Regions from separate parts of the Homo sapiens genome. Here region 1 is linked to region 2. The links are contacts of gene promoters, found by promoter capture Hi-C in human tissues and cell types (Jung and others, 2019). All regions are on one chromosome and are shown on one strand. The core of a region is centred on a gene start or on the middle of the fragment in contact, and the rest is flanking DNA. Distances in the headings are between cores, read along the strand shown. Region 1 holds the start of ZNF878 (zinc finger protein 878). Region 2 overlaps ZNF136 (zinc finger protein 136).

The links. The method cuts DNA at HindIII sites, captures the fragments that hold promoters and counts their contacts. A contact is called where the count stands out against the background at its distance.
Region 1: the fragment with the promoter of ZNF878 here is called in contact with a fragment that was not itself captured in region 2 in 3 of the 25 tissues and cell types used here (adrenal gland, lymphoblastoid cells and mesenchymal stem cells).

The regions. Positions count from the first base shown.
Region 1 is chr19:12,051,455-12,057,461 of GRCh38, forward strand. It overlaps ZNF878 (zinc finger protein 878), which reads right to left and starts at 1,507. Exons shown (of 4, transcript NM_001080404.3): 1 at 1,345-1,507. The coding sequence starts at 1,347. RefSeq lists a silencer at 1,103-1,152 and an enhancer at 1,341-1,846. The HindIII fragment of the contact is 7,236 bases long and covers 1-4,918 here.
Region 2 is chr19:12,185,986-12,192,343 of GRCh38, forward strand. ZNF136 (zinc finger protein 136) reads left to right here. Exons shown (of 4, transcript NM_003437.5): 3 at 129-189; 4 at 585-3,886. The coding sequence ends at 2,016. Among named protein-coding and RNA genes, the nearest start is that of ZNF136, 26 kb to the left of the region's middle. The HindIII fragment of the contact is 7,748 bases long and covers 643-6,358 here.

The DNA of each region.
Region 1 (6,007 bases), core at 257-2,756, 140 kb before region 2:
TTTTTTTTTTGAGACAGTCTCATTCTTTCACCATGGCTGGAGTGCAGTGGGGCATTCCACTGTAATCCCAGCACTTTGGGAGGCCGAGGAGGGTGGATCACGAGGTCAGGAGTTCGAGACCAGCCTGGCCAATATCATGAAACCCCGTCTCTACTAAAAATACAAAAATTGGCCGGGCGCAGTGGCTCACGCCTGTAATCCCAGTACCTTGGGAGGCCGAAGTGGGCGGATCACAAAGTCAGGAGGAGTTCAAGACCAGCCTGGCCAATATGGTGAAACCCGTTTCTACTAAAAATACAAAAATTAGCCGGGCGTGGTGGCTGGCGCCTGTAGTCCCAGCTACTCGGGAGGCTGAGGCAAGAGAATCGCTTGAACCCGGGAGGCGGAGGTTGCAGTGAGCCGAGATGGCGCCACAGCACTTCAGCCTGGGGCGACGGAGCGAGACTCCGTCTCAAAAATATAAAAATCTGGTAAAATAAAAACAGGTCTTTTGGGGAAGGGGGCGGGGACTGGGATGGAATAACGTGGCAGATAACAGCCCTCCTTCCTACAGCCTCCAAATTTTAGACAAAGCTTTACACACTCTCAACCAACTGCCACCTACAGAATCCCTCCACCACCTGTGCCTTCTAACCCCGCTTCCATGTGTCCCGCCTTTCGGCCAAAGGAACTTACACCTTCCCGGCACTGATTCATCATTTTCCTGCAATTCCTGTCTCCCTGAAATGAATAAAACCAAACTGTCAGGAGCTGCCTCGGGATTGCTTACTCCAGACTTCGCGGGGTTGTGTTTCCCTCAGCCGAGGTCTCTCCTATTCGGCTCAGAATAAACTTATTCTACACGATTTGGGTTTTTCCGTTACCAAACCACAAGCCAGGACTGGGAGTTTCTCATTCATTAATCGCTGTTTGCTAAAATAAACTCTCATTTTTTAACAGTGCCTCAGTTTAATTTTTAACTGGAAAAAAAAAGGAACTGGGGACCCCACAGCCCACAGCTCCTCCCACACGAACCCCACACCCGAGGCAGGATCCCCCATGACCCTTCCATGGTCACCGCACAATCTGGGGAGACGCGGGGCTGCGGGCGCGGAGCTGCTCAGAGAGGGAGCCGGGGCCGGGGCCGCAGTCGCCGCGCAGGGACCGGACAGGACGCCCGGGGTCCCGGCTGCCGGCCCAGCTCCACCCAGCGGCCGAGGGGACCGAGGGCCGAGCTGCGCTAGGGGGACTGTGTCTGGAGCCCAGAGTCGCTGCAGGGGGGCCCGGGCCCCGCCACAGCGGGTTCCTCTCGGTTCCACCCAGTCCCTCCTTTCGCCTTGGGACTCCCCAGCACCGCATGCTCACCATTTCCTGGCTTCCAGGTATTCTGGCGTCCTCTCTAAAGGTCCCGTGAACAGTGCAGGTCACAGCGCAGTCGACAGAGCAACAGCAGCTACGGCGGAAGTAACTGGTCCCTCTCGGAGCAAGAAAGCCCCAGACCTTAACTAGCGCGAGCAGCCCTAGGAGTGAAGAGAGCGGGAATGCAACCTCCCCTTCCCTGGAGGACAGTGGCAGGGCCCCGCCCTAGCGCCCCTGATTGGATAGGGGTCTAGACTCCGCCCCCTTCCCTGAGTGACAGCAGAAGCCCCGGGTAACTGGGCGCTGCAGAGCCGAAGCGACTGGTTCTGGCCACACTTTCCAAGGTCAGCTCCCTCCCTCCCTCCCACCTTTACTTCGAATATTTGCCTTCGGCCAAACTTGCTCCGAACTGCTAGAAGGGACACTGTTGTCTTCCTCACTCCGTGGGCCGTCCCTGCCCCTTCATCCTACACGGGACACAAGTGTGCAGGGAATTCCAGATTCAGTGTCCACAAAATGTGAAAGACATTAAAATATTTTGCCCCAAGATATTGCCCTGCCAAAATATATTTCTTTGACAGTTTTGAAATGGCTGCTGCTTGGCCAGCAAACAAAAGGTGGCCTTGCAAAACTGTCTTTTGAGGGGGAAATTTACATTTGTAGAGAATCTCCGTTAATGAAGCACTGCCAGCTCCCCCGTTCTTTTCCTTTCCCTGATCTAAAAGCTATTGAGAGTTTGACACCTTTAAAATCTGAAGAGAGGTAGCACATGGTGACTCATGTCTATAATCCCACCACATTGGCAAACTGAGGCGGAAGGATCCCTTGAAGCAAGGAGTTTGAGGCCAACATCATCAACACAGCGAGATCCCTGTCTTTCTTTCTTTTTTTTTTTTTTTTTTAGACAGTCTCGATCTGTCGCCCAGGCTGGAGCACAGTGGCACGAGATCTTGGCTCACTGCAACCTCCGCCTCCCAGGTTCAAGCGATTCTCCTGCCCCAGCCTCCCAAATAGCTGGGATTACAGACATGCGCCACCACGCCCCGCTAATTTTGTATTTTTAGTAGAGACGGGGTTTCTCCATGTTGGTCAGGCTGGTCTCGAACTCACGACCTCAGGTGATCCGCCCGCCTCGGCCTCCTAAAGTGCTGGGATTACAGGCGTGAGCCACCTCGCCCGCCGATCCCTGTCTTTATTATTTAAAATTTTTTTAAATGGCCGGGCGCTGGCCGGGCGCAGTGGCTCACGCCTGTAATCCCAGCACTTTGGGAGACCGAGGTGGGCGGATCACGAGGTCAGGAGATCGAGACCATCCTGGCTAATACGGTGAAACCCCGTCTCTACTAAAAATACAAAAAAAAAATTAGCCGGGCGTGGTGGTGGGCGCCTGTAGTCCCAGCTACTCGGGAGGCTGAGGCAGGAGAATGGCGAGAACACGGGAGGTGGAGCTTGTAGTGAGCAGAGATCGCACCACTGTACTCCAGCCTGGGCCACAGAGCAAGACTGTGTCTCAAAAAAACAAAACAAAACAAAACAAAAAACCAGTGGCCGGGCGCAGTGAGACCAGGTCTCTACCAAAAAGATAAGTAAATAGATTAGGGCCAGGCATGGTGGCTCATGCCTGTAATCCCAGCACTTTGGGAGGCCGAGGTGGGTGGATCACTTGAGGTCAGGAGTTTGAGACCAGCCTGGCCAACTTGACGAAATCCCATCTCTACCAAAAATATAAAAATGAGCTGGGTTTGGTGGCACACACCTGTGATCCCAGCTATTCGGGGGGCTGAAGCAGGACAATTGCTTGAACCCAGAAGACGGAGGTTGTAGTGAGCAGAGATTGCACCATTACACTCGAGCCTAGGTGACAGAGTGAGACCTTGTCTCATAAAAAGGAAAAAAGTCTATTCTCTGGGGGAGACATCATCTACGTAACAGTCCACCTCTAGCCAAGCCTCTTCCTTTCTCAGTCTACTAAGCTGTCTTGCTACTAAACCTAATTTACTGACCTCAGGTCGCTATATAATCTTCTCTGTCTTATAGCTGGGTGTGTCTTCATTCTGAAGGTTCCCATGTATACATGTTAAATACATTTGCATGCCTTCTTTTCTATTAATCAATCTGCCTCAGATCAATTAGTTTTCAGCAAACCTTTAGGACACGAAGAGTCTATCACCCCCACAAAGCCATCCCCTTGTCTCAGGGCAGGAGGGGAACAAGGCCATGTATGACTGCTCCAGGAGGGAGAGACAGATCTCCTGCAGTGGGGCAAGAATCGGGATGAGGCATGGCCAAGGTTTCCTCACATACACCCATCTTCTCCTCACAGTGTGGAAACTCCCCCTCCTCTCCACACCTTCATTTTCATTAGCGGGAAACTCTCACCTGGAGTCAGTTTAATCTTATTACCAGAAAGGGGTACCAATCCAGACCCCAAAAGAGAGTTCTTGGACCTCATGTAAGAACAAATTCAGGGTGAGTCCATAAAGTAAAAGCAAGTTTATTACAGAAGTAAAGAAACAAAAGAATGGCTACTCCATAGACAGAGCAGCAGCATGGTCTGCCTGACAATGTATACTTATAGTTATTTCTTGATTATGTGCTAAACAAGGGGTGGATTATTCATGAGTGTTCTGGGAAAGGGGCAGGCAATTCCCAGAACTGAGGGTTCCTACCTCTTGTTATACCACATAGGGTAACGTCTGGATATTGCCATGGTATTTGTAAACTGCCATGGCGCTTGTGGGAGTGTTTGTTAGCATGTTAATGCTTTATAATTAGTGTATAATAAGTAGTGAGGACCACATAAGGTCACTTTCTTTTCTTTTCTTTTTTTTTTTGAGACAGAGTCTCACTCCCTCGCCCAGGCTGGAGTGCAGCAGCGCAATCATAGCTCGCTGCAGCCTCTCTGCCTTCCTGCAGCCCCTGCCTCCCAGGCTCAAGCAATCCTCCCAGCTCAGCCTCCTGAGTAGCTGAGACTACAGCCACAGGCCACCACAATCAGCTAATTTTTGTATTTTTTGTAGAGATGGGGTATCACTGTGTTGCCCAGGGTGGCAGAGGTCACTTTCGTCGCCAACTTGGTTTTGGTGGGCTTTGGCTGGTTTCTTCAGCGCATTCTGTTTTATCAGTGGGGTCTTTATGACCTGTATCTTGTGATACCAGTCCTGCCGACCTCCTAGCTCATCCTGTGACTAAGAACGCCTAATCACCTGGGAATGCAGCCCAGTAGGTCTCACCCTTATTTTACCCAGCCCCTATTCAAGATGGTTTCACTCTGCTTCAAACACCCCTGACATTATGACTTAAATAAAGTCAACTTTATAAACCCTTTGTTCATAACACAACCCAAACAATTTGTTCTCTGAGGCTGACCTTCACAGATTTGCTTCATATATATCAATTACAGTCTGTCCCCAGCGACCCTGTGCATGCCAAAACCAAAACACTGCCCAGAAAATAGCTCCAGGCCTGAAGGTACCTCTGAAAGGTACAACCCCAGATAGGACAGAACCCCCGAGCGCATCTGCACGTGGGTCTTCTGCCATCCAGGGCTCTGCAGCTTCCCAGAATCCACACTCCTTCTGGAGCTGGAGGCCACCTTCAAGGGAGGGCGGGCTCCGGGGGAAGCCCCCAGGAGTTTGCAAAAGGAGCCCCCTTTCCCTCCTTTTGCAAACTCCAGACTAGCCTCAGCGGGGAGTCATTGGCCTCCGGCTCTGCTGCCCCCTACAGGTTATTAAGCCGCTTCTTACCCCATTGATCAGTTCCTAGAAACAAACACCCTCAATCCCAGTGTGTGAATAAGACGCCAGCAGAGTCTCTGCTTTCCTCCTGTGGTGCTTTTTTTTATTTTGTTTTGTTTGTTTGTTTGTGACGGAGTCTCGCTCTGTCGCCCAGGCTGGAGTGCAGTGGCGCGATCTCGGCTCACTGCAAGCTCCTCCTCCCGGGTTCAGGCCATTCTCCTGCCTCAGTCTCCTGAGTAGCTGGGACTACACAGGCGCCCGCCACCACGCGCGGCTAATTTTTTTTTTTTTTTTTTTTGGAGACTGAGTTTCACTCTTGTTGCCCAGGCCGGAGTGCAGTGGCGCGATCTCGGCTCACTACAAGCTCCGCCTCCCGGGTTCTCGCCATTCTCCTGCCGCAGCCTCCCGAGTAACTGGGACTACAGGTGCCGGCCACCGCGCCCGGCTAATTTTTTGTATTTTTAGTAGAGACGGGGTTTCACTGTGTTAGCCAGGATGCTCTCGATCTCCTGACCTCGTGATCCGCCCGCGTCGGCCTCCCAAAGTGTTGGAATTACAGGCGTGAGCCACCGCGCCCGGCCTCCTCCTGTGCGTTATGTATGACATAAGGAAAAACAGGCTGGGTGCGGTGGCTCATGCCTGTAATCCCAGCACTTTGGGAGGCCAAGGCGGGCAGATCATGAGGTCAGGAGTTCGAGACCAGCAGCCTGGCCAACATAGTGAAACCTCGTCTCTTCTAAAAATACAAAAAATTAGCCAGGCGTGGTGGCAGGCGCCTGTAGTCCCAGCTACTTGGGGGGCTGAGGAAGGAGAATCGCTTGAACCCGGGAGGGAGAGGTTGTGGTGAGCCGAGATCGCGCCACTGCACTCCAGCCTGGGCAACAAGAGTGAAACTCAGTCTCAAAAAAAAAAAAAAAAAAAAATTAGCCAGG
Region 2 (6,358 bases), core at 3,267-5,766:
TTGCATCATGGAGGGAGAGTACTTGGGGGGCTAAAACAGGCATAGTCACAGGGTATCATGAACCTAGAATCTAATAATTTTTCTATAATTTTGCACTAATTCAGAATTTTTCTGGGTCTCTGTTTTAGGGAAAAAATGGAAGGACCAGAACATTAAAGATCACTACAAACACCGAGGGAGAAATCTAAGGTAATTTGTACTCAGAGAAAGCAAATTCACTTGAAAGTACCTTAGCATGTCATGAAATTTTAAAAACAGGCAAACATAACTGATAAGCCAAGCTTCAAATTGATTTATTTTTTGAATATTTTCCCCAAATACATATTCTTCAGTGTAAACAGATGTTCAGTTTTTATAAAAATGTTCATTTGTCAACAGAATTAAGAAACTATTTAAGAATATCACTGTTTGAGTGATAGTTGCGGTCAAGCCCATTGCAGAGCATTGAATTCATTCATGCTCAAACAAATCAGACTTGGCATCGAGTCTACGCTTTACCTGATAATATTGAAAATGCAAGTTTAATAGCTATTAATATAAAATGATTAACAAATCCTTAGTAATGTCCGTCTCATTTTTTACAGAAGTCATATGTTAGAAAGACTCTATCAAACTAAGGATGGTAGTCAGCGTGGAGGAATTTTTAGCCAGTTTGCAAATCAGAATCTGAGCAAGAAAATCCCTGGAGTGAAACTCTGTGAAAGCATTGTATATGGAGAAGTCAGCATGGGTCAGTCATCCCTTAATAGACACATCAAAGATCACAGTGGACATGAACCAAAGGAATATCAGGAATATGGAGAGAAGCCAGATACACGTAACCAGTGTTGGAAACCCTTCAGTTCTCACCACTCCTTTCGAACACATGAGATAATTCACACTGGAGAGAAACTCTATGATTGTAAGGAATGTGGAAAAACCTTCTTTTCTCTCAAAAGAATTAGAAGACACATCATCACACACAGTGGATATACACCATATAAATGTAAGGTGTGTGGGAAAGCTTTTGATTATCCCAGTAGATTTCGAACACATGAAAGAAGTCACACTGGAGAGAAACCCTATGAATGTCAGGAATGTGGAAAAGCCTTCACTTGTATCACAAGTGTTCGAAGACACATGATAAAGCACACTGGAGATGGACCTTATAAATGTAAGGTATGTGGGAAACCCTTTCATTCTCTGAGTTCATTTCAAGTGCATGAAAGAATTCACACTGGAGAAAAACCCTTTAAATGTAAGCAATGTGGTAAAGCCTTCAGTTGTTCCCCAACCTTACGAATACATGAAAGAACCCATACTGGAGAGAAACCTTATGAATGCAAGCAGTGTGGGAAGGCCTTCAGTTATCTCCCCTCCCTTCGACTACATGAAAGAATTCACACTGGTGAGAAACCCTTCGTATGTAAACAATGTGGTAAAGCCTTTAGATCTGCCAGTACCTTTCAAATACATGAAAGGACTCACACTGGAGAAAAACCTTATGAATGTAAGGAATGTGGGGAAGCATTCAGTTGTATCCCAAGTATGCGAAGACACATGATAAAACATACTGGAGAAGGACCTTATAAATGTAAGGTATGTGGGAAACCCTTTCATTCTCTGAGTCCATTTCGAATACATGAAAGAACTCACACTGGAGAGAAACCTTATGTATGTAAACATTGTGGTAAAGCTTTCGTTTCTTCAACATCAATTCGAATACATGAAAGAACTCATACTGGAGAGAAACCCTATGAGTGTAAGCAATGTGGGAAAGCCTTCAGTTATCTCAACTCCTTTCGAACACATGAAATGATTCACACTGGTGAGAAACCCTTTGAATGTAAGCGATGTGGTAAAGCCTTTAGATCTTCTAGTTCCTTTCGACTACATGAAAGGACTCACACTGGACAGAAACCCTATCATTGCAAGGAATGTGGGAAAGCCTATTCTTGCCGTGCCAGCTTTCAGAGACACATGTTAACACATGCTGAAGATGGACCACCTTATAAATGCATGTGGGAAAGCCTTTAATGCTCTGGGTTCATGTCAGATACATTAAAATACTCACTGAAGAGAAGCCCTATGAATGTAAGTAACGTGGGAAAGCATGAAATTCTGTCAGTGCCTTTTTTAATACATGAAAGAATTCTAGAGAGAAGCCATATACATGTAAGTAACATGGGAAAGCTTTCAATCATTTTAGTTCCTTTCAAATACATGAAAGAACTCATCATGGAGAAAACCAAACAAATGCTTTTTGGAAAGGAACCCATATTTGAGAGAAACCCTGGGTAAAGGGTGTAGGAAAGGTTTTGTCATCACACAACCCTGTCACACATGAATGTGTAGTGGAGAGAACCTTGGTAAATGTAAAGAGTGTGGGAGAGCCTTTAGTCATTTTAGTTCCACTTGAAGCCATGAAAGAACACACAAAAGAGAAAGCTCTTGAATATAAGCAATGTCCACACGTTTTTAGCCAGCCCACATGCTTTCAACAACATGTAAGAATGTACCCTGGATCAAAACACTATAAATGTGAAAACTACAAGGAAGGTTTTCCATTATACTTTTAAAGTCATTTGAGGGCTCTGGCTCTGTGGCTTTGTGGGTTAAAGTACTTGTCTGGCAAACAGGAGATGCTGGATTTCAATCCCAGCAGGGCCTCACTAGTTGAGGTATTGAATTTGAACAGATGTTTTGGCTCTGGCTGGGTGTGGTGGCTCACACCTGTAATCCCAGCACTTTGGGAGGCTGAGGCAGGAGGATCACTTGAGGTCAGGAGTTTGAGACCAGTGTGCAAAACATAGCAAGACCTCATCTCAGAAAAAAAAAAAAAGTCATTTGAAAACTTCTAATACAGCAAAATCCTATAAATGTAAGTACTTCAAAAAGCCTCATGCATAGCGGGTCATGTAGTCTCTAGAAAATACATAACCTGATGGAAATGTAGAAGCTATATGTATATTTTGTTAATTAGTGGCTCATATTTAAAATAGTTCTCTGACTATGGATTTCAAATGCTTAATCTCACAAAGAAATGTTAAATTGATATAATCCTGTAAGTAATCTGAAAGCAATAGTGCATGAATTTCATAGGTAGTGTTGTTTTAGGTCAGTAAATAAAATATTTGTCTTTCCATTTTGAAATGTGTTTAATCCAACAATGAATTTAAATGTGTTTCTCATATTCAGGTATGTTAAATTGTATATGGTTGCTTAATTGTTCTGTGATTGAGGACCACTGAAAAATAAGTCTTAATAAATGTTGGTATGAACCTACTTGCTTCATTTAGCAGGTTCTTGATTCCCTTTCCACATTATATACATTCCATCATATTTATTGGAACAGCTCCTTTTTTTTCCTTTTTTCTTTTTTCTTTCTTCTTTTTTCTTTTTGAGACAGGGTCTCGCTCTGTGCTCTGTTGCCCAAGCTGGAGTACAGTGGCATGATCTCGGCTCATTGCAACCTCTGCCTTCTGGGTTCAAGTGATTCTCCCACCTTAGCCTCCTAGGAAGCTGGGACTACAGGCATGTGCCACCACACCTGGCTAATTTTTTGTATTTCTAGTAGAGATGGGGTTTCACCATGTTGGCCAGGCTGGTAGAACTCCTGACCTCAAGTGATCCACCCACCTCAGCCTCCTAAAGTCTGGGATTACACGTGTGAGCCATCACACCTAGCCCATTTTTTTTTTCTTGGCTCAAATAATTTTATTTTGCTTCCTATTAAAGAGTTGTTGTTAATTCTAAGTATGTAAAGTTTATCACAGACTGTAGTCTCGTGAATTATTATTTTAACCTGTTGTTCTTTACTCCTTGTTATTTATTCTGGCTGCTCTTTGTATAATTGATTTTGGGATAAGGAGACAGCTATGATAGAATAATAAAATCTAAAATGGGAGATGCCTTTCATGGATTGTGTCATGTCAATCTGGGTAATGGGAACTAAACTTTTCAGACTTCATTTCTTTCTTTCTTTCTGAAATAGGGTCTCACTCTGTCACTCAGGCTGGAGTGCAGTGGCACGACTGTGGCTCACTGTAACCTCAAACTCTGGAGCTCAGGTGGCCTTCCGACCTCAGCCTCCCAAATGGCTGGAACTATAGGTATGTGCCACCAAGCCCAGCTAATCTTTTTATTTTTGGTTTTTCATCTTTTTTTTTTTTTGTAGAGATGGTGTCTTGCTATGTTGCCCAGACTGGTCTCAAACTCCTGGCCTCAAGTCACCCTCTAGCCTCAGCCTCTTAAAGCACTAGGATTACAGGCATAAGCCACTGTGCCTGGCCCAGAATTTCTTTCTTTCATGGTTACCTGTAGACTGCATCAATAGCCTAAATTCCTGGAAGTTTAGAATGCAGAAGTGAAGAACGCATTAGTCAGATTTTGGAGGCATCATACGGAGAGACAGATGCATATGGGCTGTTTGGACATGGTCATCTAGCCCATTTTCCTGATTCTTTGCCCTGCCAATCAAGAGTATCCTCAGCCGGGTGTGCTGGCTCACACCTGTAATTCTAGCACTTTGGGAGGCCAAGGCGGTCGGATCACCTGAGGTGAGGAGTTCGAGACCAGCGTGGTCAACATGGTGAAACCCCATCTCTACTAAAAATACAAAAATTAGCTGGGTGTGGTGTCGCGTGCTTATAGTCCCAGCTGAGGCAGGAGAATCGCTTGAGCCAGGGAGGTGAAGGTTGCAGTGAGCCAAGATCATGCCACTGCACTCCAGCCTGGGTGACAGAGTACAGAGTAAGACCCTGTCTCAAAAAAAAAAAAAAAAAAAAAAAAAAGAGTATCCTCTAATCCACCACTAGCTACTTCACCTCCATGTTCTCAAAGTTATGGATTTCCATAGATGTTTTTAAAAGCTTCATATCAAAGATTCAGCTGCCATTTGGATATTCCTGAAGGCCCTAATATATCTGCCAAGTAATCAGTTCATATTGTCATTGTTGGGAATAGTCTGATGATCTGACTTGGTTCCTGTACGGTCCAGTTTGTACATAAACATTTTTGTCCATAGGGACAGTGAGTGTTACTGATGCAGGTTGAGAGCTACAATGGCACTATCCAAAAACAAAACGAAAAACCCTACATGGAGCTTGTTCCTCTGCTGCATTATGCAGAGATGGGTCTCACCCCGTTCTTTCATGTGAGAATAAGCACCTTATTCATTATAGAAACATTGTGGGTGTTTCCTGTTACTCATAGCTGAATGCAGTCCCTCAGTTTATTTTGAATTATGTTTGAGTACATATGATTACAAACAATATACATGTCCTCCTCAAACAAAAGTTCTCTACACATTTCTTAGAAATATTAACAGTATGCAAGCAACTTGCATACTGTCTGGTGAGTTTTGTATTTATTGAGAATATATATTAAAATATCCCATTCCAATCATGGATCCGATAAACTTTATAATTAAGCTATTTGTCCAACATTGTGAGTCAATATTACTGTGAGCTTACAACTTCAGGCCTTTTTTTCCTCATAAATTTTAGTTTTCATGCTTATTTGATTACAACTTTTATGATGATAGTAGTTTTTCATATGCATAATACCAAAAGTCAAATCATGTTGTGAGTGATTTCTTTCCAAGGACTATCAGGGACGTCCCTGTTGTCAAGCAGGGTGTAATAAATTGTGGTAATAAATACTACCACAGGCCGGGCGCGGTGGCTCACCCTGTAATCCCAGCATTTTGGGAGGCCAATGCGGGCAGATCACTTGAGGCCAGGAATTGGAGACCAGCCTGGACAACATAGCAACACCCTGTCTCTACTAAAAATACAAAAATTAGCCTGGTGTGGTGGTGCACATCTGTAATCCCAGCTACTTGGGAGTGGAGGTTGCAGTGAGCCAAGCACGCCACTGCACTCCAGCCTGGGCAACAGAGTGAGACTCTCTCAAAAAATAAAAAAATAATAAATACCACCACAAACCAGTAATGACTGTAAGGTGTATCAATAAGAGGGTATTTAAAAGAATTTATTGCAGAACTTATGCTGCTTTTTGGTTGCTTGATTCCTATTTAAGGAAGCAAAAAATTTCTCTGTATTTGATATAGTGAAGAGGTGAACTTAATTCTACCCTTGGTAATTCTTTTTATTTTTGAGACGGAGTCTTGCTCTGTCACCCAGGCTGGAGTGCAGTGGCGCAATCTCAGCTCACTGCAAGCTCCGCCTCCCGGGTTCACGCCATTCTCCTGCCTCAGCCTCCCGAGTAGCAGGGACTACAGGCACCCACCACTACGCCCGGCTAATTTTTTGTATTTTTAGTAGACGGGGTTTCACCGTGTTAGCCAGGATGGTCTCGATCTCCTGACCTCGTGATCCACTGGCCTCGGCCTCCCAAAGTGCTGGGATTACAGGCA